4 separate regions of the Homo sapiens genome follow, and all the other regions are linked to region 4. The links are contacts of gene promoters, found by promoter capture Hi-C in blood cells and fetal thymus (Javierre and others, 2016). All regions are on one chromosome and are shown on one strand. The core of a region is centred on a gene start or on the middle of the fragment in contact, and the rest is flanking DNA. Distances in the headings are between cores, read along the strand shown.

Region 1 (2,729 bases), core at 71-2,570, 230 kb after region 4:
AAAAAAAAAGAAAACAAAAAAGAAAAACAGACTAGGCCAGGCGCAGTGCCTCACATCTGTAATCCCAGCACTTTGGGAGGCAGAGGCAGGCGGATCACCTGAGGTCTTTTTTGTGTGAGATTAGGGTGGTGACACGTATGGGCACTGAGAACACTGTTCCAAGTGCTACAGGAAGCCCCAGTGCCCTTCTTAATACTTCACAGGGGGCTGGGCACGGTGGCTCACGCCCGTAATCCCAGCACTTTGGGAGGCCGAGGTGGGGGGATCACCCGAGGTCAGGACTTTGAGACTAGCCTGGCCAATGTGGTGAAACCGCATCTCTGCTAAAAATACACAAATTAGCCGGGTGTGGTCGTGGGTGCCAGTAATCCCAGCTACTCAGGAGGCTGAGGCAGGAGAATTGCTTGAACTCAGGAGGCAGAGGTTGCAGTGAGCTGAGATCACACCATTGCACTCCAGCCTGGGTGACAAGAGCAAGAGACTGTCTCAAAAAAAAGAAAAAGAAAAAAGAAAAACAGACTAGGCCAGGCGCAGTGCCTCACATCTGTAATCCCAGCACTTTGGGAGGCAGAGGCAGGCGGATTACTTGAGGTCAGGAGTTCGAGACCAGCCTGGCCAACATGGCAAAATCTCATCTCTACAGAAAATACAATAATTAGACGGGCCTGGTGGCGCATGCCTGTCATCCCAGCTACTCAGGAGGCTGAGGCACGAGGGTCACTTGAACCCAGGAGGCAGATGTTCTGGTGAGCTGAGATCACGCCACTGCACTCCAGCCTGGGTGACAGAGCAAGACTCCAACTCAAAAAAAAAAAAAAAAGCATATTGGAATAATTGGGAAAAACGAATAAGGTCTGTAGATAATAGAAGTAGATCGATGTTACTTTCATGATTTCAATGGCACTGTGGTTACACAGGTGAATGTCCCCGTTCTGGAAATACGCACTGCAGTATTTAGGAGTAAAGGGGCATCATGTCTACAGCTTACTCTCAAATGGGTCTGCTACATAATAGGTATTGTTATAATAAATGTGAAAGGCGGTGATGATAAAGGAAACACGGTAAGATATCACAATCAAGGACTCGAGGTGAAGGGTGACTAAGCTCTTATAGGGCACTCTTCATTTTATTGCACTTAGCTTTATTGTGCTTCACAGATACTGCATTTTTTTTTTTTTAACAAATCAAAGGTTTGTGGCAACCCTGCATTGAGCAAGTCTATCAGCACCATTTTTTTCTAACGGCATGCGCTCACTGTGTGTCTCTGGGCTGCATTTTGGTAATTCTCACAATAAAATTTTAAATCTTTTCATTATTATTATTTTTTTTGAGACAGAGTCTCACCCTGTGCCCTGGCTGCAGGGCAATTTTGTGATCTTGGCTCACTGCAACCTCCGCCTCTGGGTTCAAACGATTCTCCTGTCTCAGCCTCCCGAGTAGCTGGGATTTCAGGTGCCCACCACCATGCTCTGCTAATTTTTGTATTTTTAGTACAGACGGGGTTTCACCATGTTGGCCAGGCTGGTCTCGAACTCCTGACATTGTGATCCACCTGCCTTGGCCTCCCAAAGTGCTGAGATTACAGGCGTGAACCACCGCACCGGCCTCATTATTATTCTTCCATCTGTGATGGTGATCTGTGATCAGTGGCCTTTGATGTTTCTATTGTCACTGGGGCCACCACAAACTATGCCCATATAAAATGGCAAACTTAATAAATGTTGCGTGTGTTCTGACTTCTCCACCCACCGGCCATTCCCCCATCTCTTTCTCTCCTTGGGCCTACCTATTCCCTGAGACACACAATATTGACATTAGGTCAGTTAATAACCCTACAATGGCCTCGCAGTGTTCAAGTGAAAGGAAGAGTCACACATCTCTCACTTTAAATCAAAAGCTAGAAATGATTATGAGGAAGGCTCATCAAAAGATAAGACAGGCCAAAAGCTAGGCTTCTTGCACCAGTTAGCTAAGTTGTGAATGCAAAGGAAAAGTTGAAAGATATCAAAAGTACTACTCCAGTGAACACAAAACTAAGGAGTGGCCGCATGCAGTGGCTCACACCTGTAATCTCAGTGCTTTGGGAGGCTGAGACGGGTGGATCACTTGAGGACAAGAGTTCAAGACCAGCCTGACCAACATGGTGAAACCCCATCTCTACGAAAAATACAAAAATTAGCTGGTGTGGTAGCGCACACTTGTAGTCCCAGCTACTCAGGAGGCTGAGGAAGGAGAATTGCTTGAACCTGGGAGGTGGAGGTTGCAGCGAGCTGAGATTGTGTGCTACTGCACTCCAGCCTGGGCAACAGAGCGAGACTCTGTCTCAATCAATCAATAAAAAATAAGAAGTCAAACAGCCTTATTACCGATATGGAGAAAGTGTTGTCTGGACAGAAGGTAAAACCCTTAAGCCAAAGCCTAATCCAGAGCAAAGCCTTAACACTTTTCAGTTCTATGAGGGCTGAGAGGAGGAAGCTGCAGAAGAAAAGCCTGAAGCCAGGAGAGGTTGGTTCATGAGGTTTAAGGAAAGTAGCCATCTCCGTAAAGAAAAGTGCAAGGTGGCTGGGCACGGTGGCTCATGCCTGTAATCCCAGCCCTTTGGGAGGCTGAGGCGAGAGGATCACCTGAGATCAGGAGTTCGAGGCCAGACTGGCCAACGTTGCAAAACCCTGTCTCTATTAAAATTACAAAAAGAAAAAAAATTAGGCATGGGTGGTGGCGGGAACCTG
Region 2 (2,700 bases), core at 173-2,672, 180 kb after region 4:
AGATAGGGTGATGGGCACCCTAGACCAAAAGACCCCACTTGTATATTTATTGAGATTGAGAATATGTACTAAAGGAGACTGGATAGGTGGCTGAAATAAACTAGATAAGTTCACCAAGGGCCAAATGCCACTTTATTTTATCTGTGTTGTTCACTGCTGGATATCCAGCACTTAGAAGAGTTCCTGGCACATCATAGACATTCTCATATTTATGGGATGAATGAAAGAGACTTGGCCTTTCTCCTGAGGCCATTGGATACCCATGGAAAGTTCTTGAGCAGGAGAGGGGTGTTTGGAAAAGTTTCTTGGGTTAGGATAGAAGACAGACTGACTAGGGGGAAGATGAGAGAGGACAAGACTTGAGATGAAACAGGAGATTAGAGATACAATAGAATGTTTGAAAGATGCCAAGGTTGGGCTGGCCCTGCCTCCAAGGTGGTGAGGCCTAACTGGGCATCCCACACTCTGGTGGCCCTTCTCCAGGTTCCTTGCAGACCTGACGATCCTGTTGGGCCACCCCATCTCTCCCATCTTTGGTTGGCTGTGGCCCCATCTGTGTCCAGTTGTGCTGCTAATCATCTTTGTGACCATGATGGTTCATCTTTGTATGAAGCCGATCACCTACATGTCCTGGGACTCAAGCACCGTGAGCCTCCCCCAGGACCCAGAACCCCTTTGGGAGTAGGGGCCAGACCTTTCAATTCACTCTGGGTGAAAGAACCCAGTCATCTCATTCTCTTACTGCCCGAAGACTCATGGGTTTTCTGCTTTGGTTCCCCACCCATCCTTCCCCTCCACAACTCTTCCTTTTCTCTTGGGGATTTTGATATTCTGAACCCTTTTCCCATCTCTCCACAGTCAAAAGAGGTGCTTCGACCATACCCACCGTGGGCACTGCTCTTGATGATCACCCTTTTTGCCATTGTCATCCTCCCCATCCCTGCATACTTTGTATACTGCCGCATACATAGGATTCCCTTCAGGCCCAAGAGCGGAGACGGGCCTATGACAGCCTCCACATCCCTACCCCTAAGTCACCAGCTAACACCCAGTAAAGAGGTTCAAAAGGAAGAAATTCTACAAGTTGATGAAACAAAGTACCCATCAACTTGTAATGTGACTTCCTAACTTCATTAATTTGGCTTCACATAACATATCCCTTAGAACAGATCCAATAGACAACTCTTAATATCAGCTTGCAACTGTTGATCTCCCTGGATCCAGAACCACTTTTATTTCCAAGAGGAGGGGCATTCTTTGGGGGTGTTCATGGGGCCTGGACTTGCAATCCCTTCCTGGGTCCCATCTTACCTGGTGACCACCATCATTGTTTTCCCCATCCTCTTCCTCAACACACATACATGCACAACACATATACAATACTAGTGATGTCTACCAGTCCTGCTACTTCTGGGGTGCCTGTCTCCTGGAATGGAGCTGGAGGAGCAATGCTGTTGGTGAATAAATCAGTCTACTGGAACTCCAAGGACTGGATGTAAGCAGATCTTTTTTTCCTATAGATGTCTCAGATGTTCAGTTTTCCTGTCACAAGGCTTCCAGTCTGTATTAGTTCATTTTCACACTGCTAATAAAGACATACCTGAAACTGGGAACAAAAAGAGGTTTAACTGGACTTACAGTTCCACATGGTTGGGGAGGCCTCAATCATGGTGGGAGGTGAAAGGCATTTCTTACATGATGGCAGCAAGAGAAAAAAATGAGGAAGAAGCAAAAGTGGAAACCCCTGATAAACCCATTAGATCTCATGAGACTTATTCACTATCACGAGATTAGGATGGAAAAGACCAGCCCCCATGATTCAATTACCTCCCCTGGTTCCCTCCCATAACACGTGGGAATTCTGGGAGATATAATTGAAGTTTATATTTAAATGGAGACACAGTGAAACCATATCATTCTGCCCCTGGCCCCTCCAAATCTCATGTCCTCACATTTCAAAAGCAATCATGCCTTCCCAACAGTCCCCCAATGTCTCAACTCATTTCAGCATTAATCCAAAAGTCCAGAGTGTCATCTGAGACAAGGCAAGTCCCTTCCACCTATGAGCCTGTAAAATCAAAAACAAGCTAGTTACTTCCTAGATACAATGGGGGTACTGGTATCAGGTAAATACAGCCATTCCAAATGAGAGAAATTGGCCAAAACAAAGGGGTTACAGGGCCCATGCAAGTCCAAAATCTAGCAGGGGAGTCAAATTTTAAAGCTCCATAATGATCTCCTTTGACTCCAGATCTCACATCCAGGTCATGCTGATGCAAAAGGTGGGTTCCCATGGTCTTAGGCAGCTCCACCTCGTGGCTTTGCAGGGTACAGTCCCCCTTCCAGCTGCTTTCACGGGCTGGTGTTGAGTGTGGCTTTTCCAAGCTCAGGGTGCAAGCTGTCAGTGGTTCTACCATTCTGGGGTCTGGAGGACAGTGGCCCTCTTCTCACAGCTCCACTAGGCAGTGCCCCAGTAGGGACTCTGACTCTGTGTGAGGGCTCTGACCCCACGTTTCCCTTCTGCATTTCCCTCCCTGGCAGAGGTTCTGCATGAGGGCTCTGCCCCTACAGAAAACTTTTGCCTGGACATCCATGCATTTCCATATATCTTCTGAGATCTAGGCGGAGGTTCCCAAACCTCAATTCTTGACTTCTGTGCACCCGCAGGCTCAACATCACGTGGAAGCTGCCAAGGCTTGG
Region 3 (2,700 bases), core at 160-2,659, 160 kb after region 4:
CTCCTGACTTCAAGTGATCCTCCTGCCTTGGCTTCTCAAAGTGCTGGGATTACGGGCATGAACCACTGCACCTGGCCTATTTTATTTTATTTTTTTAGAGAATGAGGTCCCACTCTGTTGCTCAGGCTGGAGTTCAGTGGTGTGATCATAGCCCACTGCAACCTTGAACTCCTGGGCTCAAGCGATCCTCTCCACTTAGCCTCCCAAATAGCTGGGACCACTGGCGTGTCCCACTATGCCTGGCTAATTTTAATTTTAATTTTTTTTTTTTTTTTTTGGTAGAGATGGGTTTTCACTGCATTGTCAAGGCTTATCTTGAATTCCTGGCCTCAAGTGATCCTCCTGCCTTGGCCTCCCAAAGTACTAGGATTACAGGCATGAGCCACTGTGTCTGGCCTATCCTTCATCATTCTTGTTCTTGTATTGCTCAATTTGGCTTTACTCACAGGAATTTCTCCTCATTGTGGCCTCTGGGTTGGAAAAGATCCCTGGTTGGTTAATTTTAAGAGTTCATAGAATCTAGTCTGCCCTGGTCCCTTCAGTTTCTATTGTTGACTCCATGCACTCAACTGTTATTGGATTAGGCAAGACATCTTCTAGTTTTAGCTGCTGTTCTCTAATAGCCTTCCCATGATTTCTGGTGAGTACCTGTTGATTATTTTGAGAGACTGGTTTCCCTGTCCCCCATCCCCAGGTCTGTCAGATGCTCTCTTGCTTCCTTTGTTTCCTCCCACACAGATGCTGATTCTATACAGGTCTGTGGCTCTTGTGGTTTGTTCTCATAGACTTGTCTTTTGGGGTTTATCTTGATATTGTAAATATTATCCATGGATTTTGGGCTTGCAATCTAGTAGAACTACTTGTTTTCATGTGAGTATTTGGGAAGATTTTAAAACAATGTTGCTGTTATTGCCATTACCTTCCCAGGATTTTACTCTATATTTAAAAAATTATTTTATAAGTGGCATTATTATTTTAAAATTTTATTTTCTAATTATGTATTGCAAGCATAGACATATAAATAATTTTCATTTATTGCTGTTTGCATCCAACAATCTTGCTAAATTATCTTATTAATTTAAATAATTTATCTGTAGTATTCTGGATCTTCCACATAGATATATCATCTGTGAATAGTGAGTTTTGTTTAATCTTTGTCTTTTATTCCCCTTGCTTTCCTGTGTTGTCTAAAATATTTAATGCAATGGGAAGGAAGTGCTGATAGCTGGTTTCATTGATTGTTCTTGATTTCAAAAGGCAAGCTTTCTTCACTTCATTATTAAATATGTGCCTATGTTTAAGCATATGTTCACTATTAAGTATAATCTTTTTTTTTTGAGAGACACCATTTATCAGGTTAGGGAAATTATTCCTGGTTTGCTAAAAGTTTTTCTCCGTAAATCATCATTGTATTGTATGTTTTTCCTATATCTCTTGAGATGATAATATTTTTCTTCTTTATTATATCAATGTGACTAATTATATTGATTTTCTCTAGTGGTATGCTTTGAATCATCTCTACTGAGTTTTTTGCTTTGTAGTTACCACGAAGCTTACATAAAACATCTCCTGCCTCAGCCTCCCAAAGGGCTGGGATTACAGGCATGAGCCACCATGACCAGCCCCAAAGGCTGGATTTTTGTACCTAATTTTTTCTTCAGCCTTTTCTTCCCTGCATGATTTTCTGCTTCTCTCTTAATGTTATGGAAGCATCATTTGTCTCAGGGAGACGCCCATCAACCCACCAATAACTCCAATAAATCCAATAACAGAGGAGTGGCCCACCTGCTGTTGCATTCTCTGGCATACAGCTTCTGGAAGCTGTTGGTTCACTGGAGCAGAAGGTCTTTGGCAAGTGATTGTTTTTATTTCCCACAAGTTGCTGGGAAAGTATTTACTTACTTCCTGAAACACTGAACCACTTCATCAGGAAAAAGAGATGTGAACTGACTCCTCAGTGATTACAGTTTGGTCCTGTTTCTTGTTTATGTAGCAGAAGTTTCTCTGTTTTTGACATGAGGATGGAACCTATTTTTCAGAAATGATGCAGATATCCCCATATTTGTAATATTTTAAAATCATTGGTTTTTTTTTTTGTTGGGTAGGGGGAGATTGTGGGTAAGTTTGGAGATTGGTGTTCATGTGGCTATCTTAGAAGAAACTTCCTTTTGTTTTGATGGTGAATTGTAGGAGTGGCAGGTGCTTGGAAGTTTAAAAAATTTAACAAAATTTTGACATAATTTCAGACTTACAACACTTCCATCTTTCCTTGTCTTTATTGACTGTGACATTTTTACTGAGCACAGGCCAGCTATTTTACAGAATGTACTTCAATTTAGATTTGTTTTCTGGTGTTTCCTCACGATTGGAGTTTTGTTACATGTTTTTGGCAGGAATCCCACAGAAATGATGTTGTGCTCTTAATGCATTGTATCAGGAGTTATATGATATCAGGTGACTATTATTGGTTTAGGTAGTGTGTAATACTCTAAAGATACTAGTTTCTTGGGTTTTTTTGGGGGGAATATCTTGTGGGGAGATACAGTAATACTATGCAATTATCCTGTCCCCATCAAATTTTCATCATCTTGTTTTAGCAACCATTGATGATTCTTGCTTGTGTCAGTTATTACTCTGGTAATTTCCAAACAATGATTTGTTAAAAAGACATATTTATTGAGGGATGATTGACAAGTAAAA
Region 4 (2,732 bases), core at 109-2,608:
CCTCTTCCACACTTTCTGGAGACATGGCCCCATCTCTGCCTGTCTTTCCCGGTTTCTCTCTGCCTCTGGTCCAATGCTGTCCAGTTTGCATCCCCCTCTGCCCCACCCCTCTCTCTCCCCATCTCCCCCACTCTGCTGGTCTCTCTCCAACCACCTCATCTTCACGTCTGGTTTCCTCGCCCGGGTTCCTCCAGCTCTGTCCCTCCCTCTGCCTTCTACACCACTGTTGCCTGCTTCTCTCTTGATCTTGGTCCACGTCCTCTTCATTTGTTCTTGGCTCTGTCCACCTTCCCTCTCCTCTGTCCATCTCCCCCCTTTTCTGTCCATCTCCCCCTCCTCTGTCCATCTCCCCCCTCCTCTGTCTCTCTTCCTCTCCTCTGTCCGTCTCCCTCCTCCTGTCCACCTCCCCCTCCTCTTCATCTCCCTCTCCTCTGTCCATCTCCCCCTCCTGTCCATCTCCCCTCTCCTCTGTCCATACCCCCTCCTCTCCATCTTCCCTCCTGTCCATCTCCCCCACCTCTGTCCATCTCCCCCTTCTCTGTCCATCTCCCTCCTCCTGTCCACCTCCCTCCTCTTTATCTCCCTCTCCTCTGTTCATCTGCCCTCTCCTCTGTCCATCTCCCCCTCCTCTGTCCATCTCCCCGCTCCTGTCCATCTCCCACTCCTCTCTATCTCCCTCTCCTCTATCTCCCCCTCCTCTGTCCATCTCCCCATCCTCTGTCCATCTCCCCCTCCTCTGTCCGTCTCCTCTCCTATCCATCTCCCCTCACATCTGTCCATCTCCCCTCCTATTTCCTCGTCATCTGTCCATCTGTTCTCCCGTCCATCTCCCCTCATCTCTGCCCCATCCTGACATTGTGCCTCCCCTCTCCCCTGATCTTGTCCCTGGGGTTTACGCACTGTTGGGCTCCAGGCTGGCGCCAGCACTGTCATTTCGGCCGGGGGCCCCTCATGCCTCCTGTCGCCGGGTCTTGGAAGGGACAGAAGAACAAGTCTCGGACCCTCATGCCCCAGCCCCTGCCCTGCCCGCCCCTTTGCCTCCCCGCCCCTCCCGCGTCCCATTGATGTGGCTGAGTTTCCGCCCCTTCCTCCCCCAGGCTTCCTGCGTCTGCCCCAGTTACGGTGAAAACTCTTCATCTCCACTTCTAAGAACCTCGACGTCTGGTCCCCAGAACCCTCCCCAGGTTAGGGACCCGGGAACCCAGCCCCCCACCCTCTGCTCCCCCTGCCCCAGGAGTGGGGACCCTGGCTCCGCCCCTTGGGGACCTAGAGTCCAAGTCTCCTCACGCACCAGGCTTGCCCCAGTTGGGTGTGGAAGGGGCCAAGCCGGGTGACAGCCAGAGACCGAAAGTGAAAGGAAATTTTTGGGGGGAGACAGTCAAGGGGTGGAATCTGGGCCCAGGCGGAGCGCGCCCCCTGGTGGTGAGAGGCGGCCGCTCACGCCGCAGATGGCGCGTTCTCCGGACGCCCCGCAGCGGGGGCTGCAGTGGGGCTGACTCCCTGGGTGGCACGCCCAGTGCATGGTGAGCTGGGGCTGGAACCCGGATCTGTCTCTGGGAACTCGCAGTTGCTGTGTCTTACCGTCCTCCGGGCCCCAACTTTGCCCCGCCAAGGCTTGGCACACAGGACTCAGGATGCATCTTGTCACATTGGGCCTGGCAGGTGTCGCCCTAGCACTAGCTTTATCACTGTGGGAGCTTGGCCAGCCCCTTGACCTCTCTAAGCCTCGGCTTCTCCAACTCCAAACTGAGGGGTGAGGTGGTACATGAGACAAAATAGAAGCTCTCTTCCACATCTGTGGATCTCTGAATCTCTGAAGCATTTTTTTTTTTTAGATGGGGTCTCACTCTGTTGCCCAGGCTGGAGTGCAGTGGCACAGTCTCGGCTCACGGCAACCTCCGCCTCCTGGGCTTAAGCAATTCTTGTGCCTCAGGCTCCCAAGTAGCTGGAATTGCAGGTGCGTGCCACCATGCCCGGCTAATTTTTGTATTTTTAGTAGAGACGAGGTTTCACTATGTTGGCCAGGCTGATCTCGAACTCCTGACCTCAGGTGATCAGCCTGCCTCGGCCTCCCAAAATGCTGGGATTACAGGTGTGACCCATCACGCCCATCCTGAATCTCTTGCTCACCCATCTGATCCGTGGCAGACTGTCCTGAAACATCTGCTGCCCCCACCCCCCCAGCAGGAGGATTCGAGGTCCCATCCTGGGGAACTCGGACATGGCCACACTCACTTTGGCCAGTCACATGAGGGTGGAGGTGACAGGTGTCACTTCTGAATGGAAGTCTAAGGGACCGGGGAGTGGATGGTGGAGGATGCATGGAGAGAGCGCCTCTATCAGCCAAGTTTCCTGTGCCACTCGGAGGAGCACAGGGATCCTGCCAGCCCCGGATGAGCACAGGGAGTGTAAGCAACAAACTAATGTTGTGGTTGTGGCCCACGCAGATTCGGGGGTTATGTGTTACTGCAGCAAAGCCTCGCCCGTCCTGGCCTTCATCATCCATTTCCCTTCCCTGATCCCTCTGCCTGCCTCACTTCCTGTTCAGCCTGGGTTAGCTGCCTTGTCGCACCCAATGGTCAGACCTTCCATCTGGCTAGAAAGATTTAAATGAAGCAGAGAGGCAGAGATACAAGCCCCAATAGCTCATGTGGCCCATGGACAAAGGACCTGCTCTAGCTCCTTCCTGACCAAGTCCTGGGGCCCCTCAATGTGTGTCCTGCCCTATCGCC

The links. The method cuts DNA at HindIII sites, captures the fragments that hold promoters and counts their contacts. A CHiCAGO score of 5 or more calls a contact.
Region 1: a fragment that was not itself captured here is called in contact with the fragment with the promoter of FLT3LG in region 4 in 1 of 17 cell types (naive B cells); the score reaches 5.3 in naive B cells.
Region 2: a fragment that was not itself captured here is called in contact with the fragment with the promoter of FLT3LG in region 4 in 2 of 17 cell types (total B cells and naive B cells); the score reaches 6.0 in total B cells.
Region 3: a fragment that was not itself captured here is called in contact with the fragment with the promoter of FLT3LG in region 4 in 2 of 17 cell types (total B cells and naive B cells); the score reaches 8.7 in total B cells.

What each region holds. Positions count from the first base shown.
Region 1 is chr19:49,240,363-49,243,091 of GRCh38, reverse strand. All of the region lies in intron 2 of LOC107985340 (a long non-coding RNA gene), which reads right to left. Among named protein-coding and RNA genes, the nearest start is that of MIR4324, 67 kb to the left of the region's middle. The HindIII fragment of the contact is 3,473 bases long and covers 1-2,729 here.
Region 2 is chr19:49,288,551-49,291,250 of GRCh38, reverse strand. It overlaps SLC6A16 (solute carrier family 6 member 16), which reads left to right. Exons shown (of 12, transcript NM_014037.3): 11 at 484-646; 12 at 859-1,613. The coding sequence ends at 1,128. Among named protein-coding and RNA genes, the nearest start is that of MIR4324, 19 kb to the left of the region's middle. The HindIII fragment of the contact is 6,288 bases long and covers 1-2,700 here.
Region 3 is chr19:49,314,435-49,317,134 of GRCh38, reverse strand. All of the region lies in intron 1 of SLC6A16 (solute carrier family 6 member 16), which reads left to right. Among named protein-coding and RNA genes, the nearest start is that of MIR4324, 6.9 kb to the right of the region's middle. The HindIII fragment of the contact is 290 bases long and covers 1,265-1,554 here.
Region 4 is chr19:49,472,841-49,475,572 of GRCh38, reverse strand. FLT3LG (fms related receptor tyrosine kinase 3 ligand) reads right to left here and starts at 1,358. Exons shown (of 9, transcript NM_001459.4): 1 at 1,292-1,358; 2 at 901-970. The coding sequence starts at 933. RefSeq lists a silencer at 900-979. The HindIII fragment of the contact is 13,906 bases long and covers 1-2,732 here.